Regions from separate parts of the Homo sapiens genome. Here regions 1 and 2 are each linked to region 3. Evidence: promoter capture Hi-C in human tissues and cell types (Jung and others, 2019). All regions are on one chromosome and are shown on one strand. The core of a region is centred on a gene start or on the middle of the fragment in contact, and the rest is flanking DNA. Distances in the headings are between cores, read along the strand shown. Region 1 holds the start of FHOD3 (formin homology 2 domain containing 3). Region 2 has its middle 15 kb from the start of MAPRE2. Region 3 holds the start of GALNT1 (polypeptide N-acetylgalactosaminyltransferase 1).

Region 1 (3,903 bases), core at 202-2,701, 720 kb after region 3:
ATCTGAGGTGGAACAGTTTCATTCTGAAACCATCTGCCCTTCCTCCCCCAAACGCCCCCCACCCCCACCCCACCACTGTCCGTGGAAAAATCGTCTTCCACAAAACCGGTCCCTGGTGCCAAAAAGATTGGGGACGGCTAATCTAGAGGATTCATTCAAAGAGTTAAATAACAAAGAAAGTAGAGCTAGAAGTTCGTCTGGAAGGAGCGGAAGTGTCGTGGAATTATTATTTTAAGATCAGGCATAAGTGTGTATGTGTGGCAGGGAGGGAGATCACGGAGAGGGAGAGGTTAAAGATGTGGGTGAGGCTGCTAAATAGGGATAAGGGTTTCTTTTCCCTTGAAACCAGAGGAAAGGGAGATAGACGCGTTATAGAGTCGCCTTGAAAACACTCGGATGTTAAGAGAGACTGGGTGTTATGAGGGCGATCTATATAAGGGGGGAGGAACCAGGAACTTGGCTGTGGCCTGGGAATAGGGAGAACCGTGAATTTTTCTTGAAAACGAAGGGGGTCGCCCGTGAGCAGCGAGGAGAGCGGTGGGAGGCAGCGCCGAGTCTTGCCGCTCCCGCCTGGCAGGGGCGGGCAGGACGCAAACCTTCCTTCCCAGTCCCTCGGTTACCAGGGCATCCCCGGCTCTCTGCAATTCGGGAACCTTGCCAGAAGGGCTCCCACCTCCCCAAGCCCCCGCGGCCCCACAAGGTCCAATTAGGGCTTTCGGCGGCCTAACTGGGGAGAGGCCGTGGTGATGCAGAGGTTTAACCAGCATCCGCCGGGAGCCCCGGGGTCCAGGCCCGGCGCTGGAGTCCCGCAGCGAAGCCTCGCAGCCCCCACGCCTCTCGACTCTAGGCTTGTGCCCTAAAAGCGGCCTGGGTTCCCTGGCGCACCCTCCTCTTTCTTAGCTTCTTTGTCCCTAAGGGAAACCTCCCCGTACCCTTAGGTGGGGCTCCCGGTCACTGCCACCACCCCTCTTGCTGCCGAAGCCGGCTCCCTGGCCACCTGGTGCCCTGCCGGGGTATTCCAAATCTGGGCAGCAGAAGCCGGCCGCCGCCGCCTTCATCTGGAAAGGCTTAAGCCTTCTCCGGGTGGGGAAGAAGTCAGAAGGCCGCCTGTCTCCCCGTCCCCCAACCCCCCAACTCCCCAACTCGGTCCTCCAGGCTCCGAGGGGTGCAGCTCGGCCCTGGGCCGCGGGGCGCACGTGCAGCAGAGTCCGGCCGCCCGGCCTCCCCGCCCCGCCTCCGCCGCCGGCCTTTGGCGCAGGGCTGCGGATGCCGCGCGAGCCGTCTCCTTTGCACTTTCCCGGCTGCGGTCCGGTCGTTCGGGGCAGCCCGGCCGGGGGTAGAGGACCCGGAGGAGGGGAGGAGCCGGAGGGAGAGGGGAAGGAGGGGGCCCGCCGGCCCCGCCCCCGCCCCGCCCCCCGCGGCCGGAGCCCGGGCTGCAGCCCGGCGCGCCTGAGCCTGCGAGTCCGCGAGCCAGCGAGCTGCGGCTGCGGCCTCCCCTGCGCGCAGCTACCCGGGCGTCCCGGCCCGCGGCCCCGCTAACCCCGGGGCCCGCGCCCCCGCGGCAGGGATGCATCATGGCCACGCTGGCTTGCCGGGTGCAGTTCTTGGACGACACGGACCCTTTCAACAGCACCAACTTCCCCGAGCCCAGCCGGCCGCCGCTGTTCACGTTCCGCGAGGACCTCGCGCTCGGCACCCAGCTGGCGGGGGTCCATAGGCTGCTGCAGGCGCCGCACAAGGTACGACCCGGCGGGGTGGGCTGGGCCCCCTGGACTCAGCCCCCTGCCGCGGTGCGCGCCGGGGTGGGTCCCGGGGCTTCGTGGGCCCCCTGGGCTGGGCTGGGCGCGGCCCGGGGGGACCATCGCTCGAGGGCAAATCCCCCTCCCCGTTAGACAGAAGGGCTCGAGGCACCCGCTGGTTGGCGCAGGACCCTCCGGGGCGGGCGGGAAGGAACAGCTAGAGCCGGGGGCGGGCGTGGCAGAGCAGGTGCCGAGCCGGTCCGAGGCGGGATGGAGAAGGCTCCCCCGAGCCGCGCCGTTAGCTCGGCCGGGTGGGCGGGGTGGGGCTAGGACGCGGGCAGTCGGCCTCGGCACTCGGGCGGGCACCAAGCGGGGCGCGGGAAGAAGCGGAGCGCCGCGAGACTCAGGTCCCTTGGAGAGGAGAGCTCTGAGCGACGGCCGGGACAAAACCTCCCTCAGGCCTCTGGGGCCGCTGCGGGCGGCCACGCGACCCTCGCGACAAAGCACGCTTCCCGGCGACACCGCCTCCTCCTTCCCCCGGGGGCGCCGCCGGGGACGCCGGCCGCACACTGCGATAGCGCTCAGGGTATCCCCCTTTTCTTCTGAGAAGCAGGTGGCCTTGGGAACCTCGGAGGAGCAGTCGCTGTGGGAGGAGGGGCGGGGGCGCGGAGGGGCGGCGCGCTCACAAAGCCTCAGCTTGGCAGCCCGAAATGAGTGTCCCCTGGGAAGAATGGCTGCTCAGTCTACCCGTTAGAGAGGTTTTTTTTTTTTTATTTGTTATTTTTATTTAAATAAAACCTTTTGCAGGAGGATAGGCCTCTTGCAAAGCATTTGTTGCAAAGAGGTGGGTATTGAAAGCTAATCATTTCGTTACCTAGGAAAACCCTTACTCTCACTTAGACAGATTGAATGCAGCTTGCAAAATTACCTTCCCAGTATTTTTTCTGCCTAGGATTCATATCAAAGCTTGGAGATGATTTATTTCTTGAGGGTCGACATTAACACATATTTGGAAGAGATAAGCGTTGATGCCCAAAAGAACAAAATTGATTTAAAAAAAAACCTCGGATTTCTGTATGATGTTGACCTGCTTTGCAAGTAGAGGAGGAGGTTGGTTGTGTGAGGAAACTGGTGGACTTTAGCAGTGGTAGTTTCCTCTCTATTAATGTATCAGTGCTTTCCTCCTCTACTTAGTTAGTAACGTTTTCAGGAATAAGGAATGGGGCATTTCCATCTCATTCTCTCCTGGTTGGTTCAGGACGGATACAGTCGTGGAAACCTCTCTGGCCACAAAAGCACATTTGATTGGGAGACAGAGGGTCGTCATCATCCAGAGTGATGTATTCTGGATTCAGCTGATCAGAATCACTTTTGTAAATTATTTGGTTCTTCTCAATTAGTTGATTCAGTGAAAAGTTTTCAAAGAGCTTCTTCTACATCATGATTATTCAGGCCACTACGGTCTCTGATTACAGTGATCTTTTGTTGAAACCACCAAAGGCTCATAATTGTGGCCCTGTGACCTTGAAGTGGTTTCCTTGGATTTCAAACCTTATATACATGGGTTGACCTTTCAAGCTGGGAGCTGCAGTATGTTTTCATGTTTCCATGGAACAGCCCCACAGTCTTGATCCTGGTCTGGTAGGAGAAAATCCTGATGCTCCTCCACTGCCCCCCTCCTCACCCCCAACTAGAAGCCCCAGCAGAGCAGTTGCACTGGCTTGCAGAACTTTCTAAGGTGTCCCTTATGGAATGAACAGAACCAGAAGTGGTTCTACAGAGACCCTTGACCTTTGTTTTGGGGGCCAGCCAGCCTCAGTCTCAGAATCTTTTGCCCGAAGACCCCTGCAGTATATTTAGATGTCTGGCATTGTTTTTCCCATCTACAGCAGAGTGAGCAACCGACTTTATTGATGAGGGTTCTGTAAAGCAGAAGTCAGGGCATTTATGTGCCTGGGTATACATTCATATTGTTAAGATGATACTAATTTCCATCAGAGAATCTTAAAATTGGATGATCCACCTTGATAGAAACAGCTGGAGTTTCAAGCACTTGGCATGTAGTGTATGCCCCACCCAGGCTCTGAATGCATGGTTTCCTTTCATACTACACAGCTCCATAAGGTAGGGGCTTTGATTGTCCCTATTTTAGAGATGAGGAAAG
Region 2 (4,510 bases), core at 673-3,172, 560 kb before region 3:
CCCTTTTATTCATGCTCTGACAGCATCCTTGACTCATGAAGTATCTTTTGCAATAGTTGCTGAAAGCCTTTTGACTATAAATGCTGTTTTCTTCAGAATGAAGTAGAACAAAGCATTTTATGCAAATGAACCTATTTCAGTTCTATTGATAACGATATAACTTGCTTTTATTCAGTAAATGAAGAAGAGAATCTGAAGATGAATAAAATTTACTACGAGTATCTGCAGATCAGGATCTGAAAGTTAATTTAACCTTCATTTCCCATTTTGGAGAGAATTATAATCATGCAAAAATTTGGTTCTTACATTTGCCTGGCTGATATTCAAGGGGAATTTAGAAATAGACCTTTTCAGTAAATTTAGTATTGTCCTTTATATCATAGACAATGTTAAGGATGGCAACATCTCTCATTGCTATAGGACATTCTCTTTTGTCAGATAAACTAGTGCTAACCTCTGAGGGGACTGATTCTTTAATTCGTTGCTGCTTGTTTTCTTTCTCCATGTTGTGAGTAGCTATTAATACAATGATGAATTTGCTTGGAGGGTGAGTGAGAAAAATATAAAAAAATACAGGTTAACTATAAATTTTAGAATTATATAATTGGGAAACACTAGAGGGTTATTCTGAAGTCTTTTTAGTGAAATCCAGCTTCTCACCTTGATTAGTACTAGCAAAGCCATATTTCTACTCTTGATCAAATGTGTCCTTTATAGAGTATTTGTACAAAGCATGACATAAGCATGGATTTGCAGCTGTTTCATAACCACTGTGAAGTTTCTTGGCTCTGCTCCACAGCACTGTGTCCAAGTTTCAGGAACTCTTCTCAAGTACTGTGAATGTGGAAGGAGGCCACTTGTGGAATGATTTACTTTACCCAGAGTTGAGTGTTTTGCGTGCAGAATGTGAAGCTGCTGTTCAGCCTGTTGTGTCCAAATGTAAGTGACTGGCCAAAGAAACTTTTTTTGGAGCTTGTCATCCAGCCTCAAAACTTACCCTCTGTGGATCTTTGCATGTTCTAACCATCAATAGGAAATAGCAATGCTATAACTTTTCATTTCTTCCAGCCAATAATCCCCTATGAATTTTTTAGCTGATATTTTAATGAGCTTAAAACATTGTGATTCTGACTTTAATGATGTACTCGATTGTAATTAAAGCAGTTATAAAGATGAGACAGTCGTGGCTGAATGTTCCCAACTCTATGTGCTCTTCACCCTAGGAGGACAGGGACTCAGAGGTAACAACTCGGATACTGTTAACATTTACATCATCAGAATTCATTTCACTAAATTGCCGTCCTCTCTGTAGTTTTTTAATAAAGCAAGCTGAAGTTATTTTCAAACAGTAGCTTAGAAGTCTAGCAGTTCCACTGAACATAGTCCAGTGGAATAATCAGATGTAGTAATAGATTCTTCCAAGAGCATTTATGAAGGATTCCAAATAGGAATGTTTACAGGTTCTTCTCTTTGTTTACCAAGTACAGAGGAAGCTTTGCTTATGCTGATACCAGGTGGCAAAACTAACATTCCAGGTTAGGCCGAAACCAAATTCAATCTTACTCTTTCTATACACGGTGGGGCATAAGTTTCTAAAGGTAGTTAGGTTTTACAGTGCCAAAAGAAAAACTTAGAATTTTTGTCTTGAAATGATAGGGAACCCCTGAAGACTTCTAAAAATGAAAGGAGGGAAGATAGAGCTGGTGGTGAGATGTGAATTGATTGTGAAGCAAGGAAACCTCTCTAGAGAGACTCATGAGGTAGGTGAGAGGAAGGAGCGTGTCTGAAGCAGGGTGTGAGCAGCGGGAGAGGAATGGGCAGGACATACCTGTCCCCCTGTGAAATGAACAGGTATGATGTCTGAATCAGACAGATGGGTAGAGAGGGAAAAACATTCTGAGGATTCAAAGCTAAGTGCTGGCTATCAGTTTAGCTCAAGCAGGAGATCTGGAGAGGGAGCCAAGTAGGAGAGAAGCTTCCTCATTAAATGTACTGTGTATTGTCTAAACCAATGGCCGCAACCTAATTTCTGTGCATGCCTCTGACCTGCTTATTCAGCAAGTGAGAGAATGCAGCGATGAATATGGACACCACACCACAGTCTCACATTTTTACAAGGTGCTTTTGGAAACCTGAATGGAGATTTGACTTTTTTTTTTTAGTTGCTTCCATGGCAACCCTCCCCATGAAAACAGGCGCAGTCTGCAGAGGCCTGTTCTTTTCTGTTGATGTTTGTCACTACCACATGGGGTCAGGTTTGTTCTTTCTCCCTCCCCAAAAATATTTGCTAGCTCTGTGGAAAAACTGCTGTTGCCCTAAACAGTTTACCTGCATCTGTACCCCGCTGTTCCTGTGCCAAGGTGACTAGGGACCTTCTGTGTGGCTTTGGCATCCCTCAGTTTCCAGATATAAAGCAGAGGACAGGTTCCCTCTACTCTCAAATTCCCATGGGCATGGCTGGGGATAGGAGAGCAGGCAGAGTCCCTCTTCAAGGACACTCACCAGCTCCTAACCCAACATCTCTAACCAGTCATGTAGTCTTGTGGCTTATAGTACGAACTTTAGTTTCTGAATCTTTGAAAGATCTTAAGCTTTTGATACTTGAAAATGAGACTCTGAGGCTCATAAACATTTCTTCAGGGTTTTTTCTCTGCCATGGGCTTACAAGTTGATTTTGAAACTCCGAAGTTGAACATTCATTCTTTTCTTCCTCTCTTGCATTCCTGCCCCATGCTGAAAACTCAGCGAGTAAAGAAGGTTCAGCAGGTGTGTGTGGCAGGTTTTCCAAAGTGGGTTACTACAATCTCTCCCATCCCACAGGTTTTCTTGCAGTGTGAGATTGACATTCCTCCTAGTTATGTTACCAGTGGTGTTGATAGCCCTTCCTCTTGAATCTGGGTGGAACTTTGTGGCAGCCCTGACCAGCAAAATACAATGGAAGTGATGCTCTGTGACTTCCAAGACTAGGTTTTAAAACTGCCATGCCCTTCTGCCTGCTCATTAGGGATGCTTGTGCTAGGAACCCAGCCACCATGCTGTGAGGAGCCCAGGCCACATGGGGAAGCCTTGCATAGGTGTTCCAACCAGAGCCCCAGCTGAGGCCCCAATTAAAAGGCAACGTCAGCCACCAGTCATGAGACTGAGGAAGCCTTTATGAAGACTTCAGCAGTCAGTCACCTTCCAACCATAGCTACATGAGAGACCATGGGTGACAACCACCTAGCCAAGCCCAGTCAACCTCCAGAATGACAAGAGATAATAATAAAATGATTATTGCTATTTTAATCCACCAAGTTTAGAGTCACAATAGAGAACCAACAGGGTTTTTCTGTTATCTGTTAATGCATAACAGCCTACCACAAAACTTATTAACTTAAAATAACCATTTGTCCTACATTATGGTTTTGTGGACCAGGAGTTCAGGAAGGTCTTGGTTAGGTGGGTCCTTTCTAATCCATATATCCATATAGTGTCAGCTGTGGTGGGTGAAGATGCAGGATGCTTCCTCAGTCACATATTTGGAGCCTTGGTACTCTTTGTGGTCTCTCCTCTCTTCCCCTCCCTCTCCATGTGTCCCACCCTCTGGGCCTCTCTACATGGTTGGTACTTCCCCCAGAGTAGCTAGACTTCTCACAGGGCAGCAGACCTGCCTTCTTACAGAGCAGCATGGTAGTCCCAGGGTAGCTGAACTTCTCACAGGGCAGCTGACCTTTAAGAGACAAAGGCAAAAGCTGCCTGTCATTGTAAGGTCTAGGTCAAGAACTGGTCGGCATCATTTCTACCAAAATCTATTGATCAAAGCTGCCACCATGATTCAAAGGGAGGAGAAATAAATCCAACCTCTAGAATGGAAGGGTAAGAAAAAATTATGGCCACAGGGGCAAGGCAGGAACCTAGGTTTATATCTCAAAATGTTACCTTACAAATCTTATTATACCTGTTTTATGGGTGAAGAAGCTGAAGCTAGAGGAGTTAAGTAATTTGGCCAAGGTTACACAACTTGTAAGCACTTGGATTCAAATCCAAAGCATATGCATCAAAACCATGAACTCTGAATTTTGCTATTCTTCTATGCAAAATATAGTAAATATATAATGTATACTATATTTTCTTAATTCCCCAGTACTAACTTTTATAAGGAAGATAACATCCCCCAACCCCCCAAACACATACACATTACAGCTCTAATTTTAGAAAAACCTAGAGAACTATTCTAAATGACCTGATTTGGGTCATAGGCCTATCTCTGCATCAATCCTCAGGGTCTGGAGGATGGAATAATTATATTTGGCAAGCTCTGCTACAACCACAAGGATTGAAGAAATAATTTCCCGAAAGAGGGAGGAGCAAACAAAATAATGTTCACTGTGCATGCTCTTTATACTGCAAGCCATTATTTCTCATTCATGATTTCATTGCATCATTGAAGGCAGATAGGATCTGTCCCAGTGAGACTGGAATTGTGGGCTGGTGGGAATGGCGTGAAGACAGGCTGTGTAGAGAAGTTCAT
Region 3 (4,348 bases), core at 447-2,946:
CTGCACCATTTTACATTTCCATAGGCAACGTATGAGGGTTCTAATTTCTCCATCTCTTCACCAACACTGCTATTGTCTGTCTGTCTTTTGTACTACAGCCAGTGTAGTGGGTGTCAAGAACTTCCTTGTTGTGCTTCTAATTTGCATTTCCCTATTAACTAATGATGTTGAACACCTTTTTATGTAATTGTTGATCATTTAAATATCTTTGGTAAAACGTCTATTCAATTGTTTTGCCCATTTAAAATTGGACTATTAGTCTTATTACTGAGTTGTAAGAGTTCTTCATACATTCTGGCTACAAGTCCTTTAACAGATATATGATTTGCCAATCTTTTCTCCCAAGATAAGAGTATTTTTTAACGATGACAACTTTATTCCAAAGTGAAGTTTCCTTGTGGAACAGTAACAGGCTAGTCATGATTGACTTTGTTTCAAAATATTATATAAGTACTTTTAAAATAGTAACTTTTAACTTTTATTTTAGAATACTTGGAAGATGTAGACAAGCAAAAACAGGATACTAAAATTCCAGAGATAATCTTCAGGTTTTTTTTTTTTTTTTTCGGACAGCCTTTTGGTTATGTGAGAGGTAATATAAATTTAAAAGTGGGACCACTTAAATATTAAGTAATCTCTTATTGCAGCTCTTGGTTGGCAAGCAATAAGACACAAACCTCTGAATTATTTAAGTAGAAAATTAATTTATTAAAAGAATGGTTGGTTATGCCTCGCGTGAGTGACAGAGCCAGGGTTTTGTCTTCTATCTTCAGGGCAGGGTACAGCTGGGTATTGGAATTGTACCAAGCAGTGTTTCCCAAGGGGGCACAGAGGGAGGGCCCCTCTCCGGGCACTGTGCGGGAGCCACTTCCCCAAACAGTCCCCGTTCTGCAAGGGCCCCGGCGTTGCTGCCCCCGAGACCCGGGTGCCTGCCCCGGCGGTGCGGGTCGCGGGCCTCCGCTCTCGCCGTCCTCCCTCAGTCCCGGGCCTCCTGCATCGCGGTCGCCAGGCGCAGGCTCAGCGCGGCTGACAGCGCTCCAGCTCCCGCGCTCGCGGCCGCCTCAGGCAGCCGACCGGGTTGGGGCGGCCCCGCGCTCGGCCCGGGAGCCGATCCGCTGTGAGGGCTCCTCCATCTCCTCCCACCCCGTGACCTGCTCGACGCGCAACAGCCCGAGTTGTCTTTAACTTGCTGCGGCAGCCTCTTTGTCCCGACCCAGGGTCGGGGGCACCTCTCGGCCTGGCCCGGCCCTGCCCGTAGCCGTGTGAGCGGGGGCCGGGACTGGGCGGTCGGTCCGGGAGGGGCGCCGCGCCCGACCCCGGAGTCCCGAGCCCGAGGGGAGCGTCGCGGCCCCGCGGTGGGCTCGCCGCAGCGGAGGGGGCGCGCATCCGGGTGAGCGCCGGCGCCCCCGCCTCCCCCGCGCAGCCGCACGGGCCGCCGCCGCCGCTGCCGCCGAGCACGCAGCGCAGGGAGGACCGCGCCCGAGCGCCTGCGGGCGCCCTGCGGCGCCCGCCGCGCGACGAGCCCCAAGTGAGCGGGCAGGCGGCGCGCATGCGGGGCGGCCCGGAGTAGCGCCGCCCGAGCCCGCGAGCGGGGCGCCCGGAGTAGCCGCCGACCCGAGCCGGGCGCGGAGGCGGGGGCGGGCGCGGCGGAGCGGGGCCCGGCCGGACCCGCCCGCCCGCCGGGGGAGCCGCCGGCAGTGGCCGAGGAGCGCGCGGCGGACGGCGGCCCGAGAGTAGCGCGCTGGCCGCGGGACCGGCCGCGACCGCCGCGGCCGGCCCGGAGGACGCCTGCCGCCGCCGCCGCCGCGCGCCTAGCGAGGTGAGTGTATCGCCCGCGGCTGGGCAGTCCCGGAGCCGCAGCGCTGCGCGCGGGTCGGAGGTGGAGAAAGAGGCCCCGCCGCGGCCGCGTCCCCGGTCCCTTTGTGGCCGGCGCTGCCTGGGGCCGGGGCGCGGGCACGCTCGGCGCGGGTTCGGGTCTGGGACCCCGGTGCCGTTGGACACGCGGCGTCTCTGGTTGGCAGCTTTGGCGAGCAGCGAGTTTCCGTCCTAGTTTGACATTGAGTTAGAACCGTTTTTCTTTAGAAGACGGAAGTTTGTTTTATTGACAAAAATAAAGCTAAATATGGCTTCTGGGTTCGGCCGTGTGGTACTTGCAACCGCGGTGCCAGCCTGACCCTCGCGGCGCCACGGGGGAGGGGAAGACACGCCGGCAGCGGGGGAGGGGGCTTCCCGGCCCGCTGCCCCCGAGGAGGACCCGGACCTAAATTAGCAAATGTTTGTGGTTGGGAAGTAGCGGGCTTTAGGTAATGTAGTAGCTTTTCCGCTTTTCCTGGAAGAATGAATGAATGAGATGTCATTTACTCATCCATAATCAATACGTTGCCCATTTAAGCATTTACCAGGAATTGGGATGATTTGCATTGTCATTGCTTCTCTTATCTGGTCAGCCTTGCTAGATGAGGTTCCCTTACTCCCCAGATTTGTGACCTTGTCCTCATTCTCAAAGCCACTGAGCTAACCAACCCGTCTACCAAACTCACTTGGCATTTTTTTGGTCAAGTGGGCAATAGGCAAAGTAGTCTTTCTGAACTGTTTCTGGAGGGCAGAGAATGTCACTTTGATCATATCTTATGTTTAATACATTGCTTTATAATCGTGTCAAGAACGCTGAGAGTTAGGAGGTCTTGTCATTTCACAGATGAAATAGTGAAGGCCCTAAGAAGTTGCAACTTTTCAGGTCACAATCTGAGCAGCAGAGTTGGGATTCAAACCTAGACCTTGTTAGTCCAGTCCTCTTTACATCACATCTGTGTCCAGACCTGGACTGTCCAGCGTGGGAGCCACTAACCACATGTGACTATTAAAATTAAATTTTAAAAATTCAGCTCCTCGGTCACAGTAGCCACATTTCAAGTGTTCCATAGCTAAATGTGGTTCTTTGCTACAGTTGAACAGCCCTGGTCTAAATTATACATACATTTGTTGTGTCAGTAAATATTTACTGAATGCGATCTGTCTATGAGGCACAGTTTTAAGTTCTGGGTACATGGTGAATAAGGGAGACACAATGTCCTTGCCCTATTGGAATTGACATTTTACATGATCCTTTGAGGATGTTTCCATGGTACTCCGAGTCCTGCTATTCCAAGTGTGGATGGTGTACCAGCAGCATCCCTGTCACCTCAGACTCAAGTAATGCAGAATGTGAAGCCCCGCTGCACATCAACTGAATCAGTATCTGCTTTACCAGGATTTCAAGTTATTTGTGTGCACTTTGAAACCTGAGAAGCCTTTGTTCAGCGTGCTGGTGATAACTGCGTTTAATGACTGCTCTGCTGGTTTGTTTGGTGCCTCTTAAGCAGCAGACTGCAAAACTCTTGGGAGCACTCACCATTTATGCAAATACTTGTTAAATGCCTGGCTTTCTCAATAGAGTTTAAGCTTTATGAGAGCAGAGATTGTGGCTTCCTTTTCCAGCCATGTATCACTGAAGACTTTACAGTGCCTGGTAAGCAATAAGCACTTGGTATAAATGCTTGTTGGATAAACGAATGAGTGTGCTAGGATACTTAAGCGTGGTTGTTAGCTGGGTGTGGTGGCATGCGTCTGTAGTCCTAGCTATTCCAGAGTGACAGCGCGAGACCCTGTCTCAAAAAACTGAAAACCCAACAACAACAAAACTGATTGTTAATCCCAAGCAGTTACAGGCAAGGTAATTCTCATGACATCAGGTGAGAGAGCATGGGACCAGAGTCAAAATGAAGATAGATCTGTTTGTAACTTTCAGTGGGACGCTCCAGCTACTCTGACTGGAGTTTTGCTCCTGGCTCACTTGCATGCCCTATCCCTCTTTTAACTAATATAATAATAATTTTGAATCTGAATCACACATTAGTGCTTCATATAGTTTTTAAAAAATTTTGTATTTTTTTAGGTAGCTAAATTCCAGACATTATTTGGATTTCACCAGTTTTTCCGTTAATATCTTCTTTCTGTTCCAGAATCCAGTCCAGTGTACTACATTGTATTTTGACATCATGTTTCTTTAATATTTGGTTTGTGATAGTTTCTGTCTTGTCTGGTTTTCCATAACTTTGGTAGTTTTGAGGAATACTGTCCTGGCTTTCTTTGATGGACAGCTTTCCATACTCATTCTCATGAAAGGTCACAATCAGGTTGACGCTGTTTCTGCTTTTACTTATTTATTTATGTAATACATCTGTCATGCTTATGTAACATACAACTTTGGTACTTTTTTTTCAGTAACAGATTTCTTGGATACAGTTCCTAATTGGTTGAGATGCAGAAGAGTGTTATACCATTGCAGTTATATACCAAGTTTTATTTT

Evidence for each region. The method cuts DNA at HindIII sites, captures the fragments that hold promoters and counts their contacts. A contact is called where the count stands out against the background at its distance.
Region 1: a contact is called between the fragment with the promoter of FHOD3 here and the fragment with the promoter of GALNT1 in region 3, in 1 of the 25 tissues and cell types used here (mesenchymal stem cells).
Region 2: a fragment that was not itself captured here is called in contact with the fragment with the promoter of GALNT1 in region 3 in 1 of the 25 tissues and cell types used here (hippocampus).

The regions. Positions count from the first base shown.
Region 1 is chr18:36,296,262-36,300,164 of GRCh38, forward strand. FHOD3 (formin homology 2 domain containing 3) reads left to right here and starts at 1,452. Exons shown (of 29, transcript NM_001281740.3): 1 at 1,452-1,739. The coding sequence starts at 1,575. RefSeq lists an enhancer at 298-1,275 and silencers at 1,215-1,504, 1,625-1,694. The HindIII fragment of the contact is 5,975 bases long and covers 1-3,903 here.
Region 2 is chr18:35,024,360-35,028,869 of GRCh38, forward strand. It overlaps a transcript of MAPRE2 not described here. Among named protein-coding and RNA genes, the nearest start is that of MAPRE2, 15 kb to the right of the region's middle. The HindIII fragment of the contact is 4,027 bases long and covers 1-3,936 here.
Region 3 is chr18:35,580,044-35,584,391 of GRCh38, forward strand. GALNT1 (polypeptide N-acetylgalactosaminyltransferase 1) reads left to right here and starts at 1,697. Exons shown (of 12, transcript NM_020474.4): 1 at 1,697-1,819. RefSeq lists a silencer at 739-1,438. The HindIII fragment of the contact is 13,517 bases long and covers 1-4,348 here.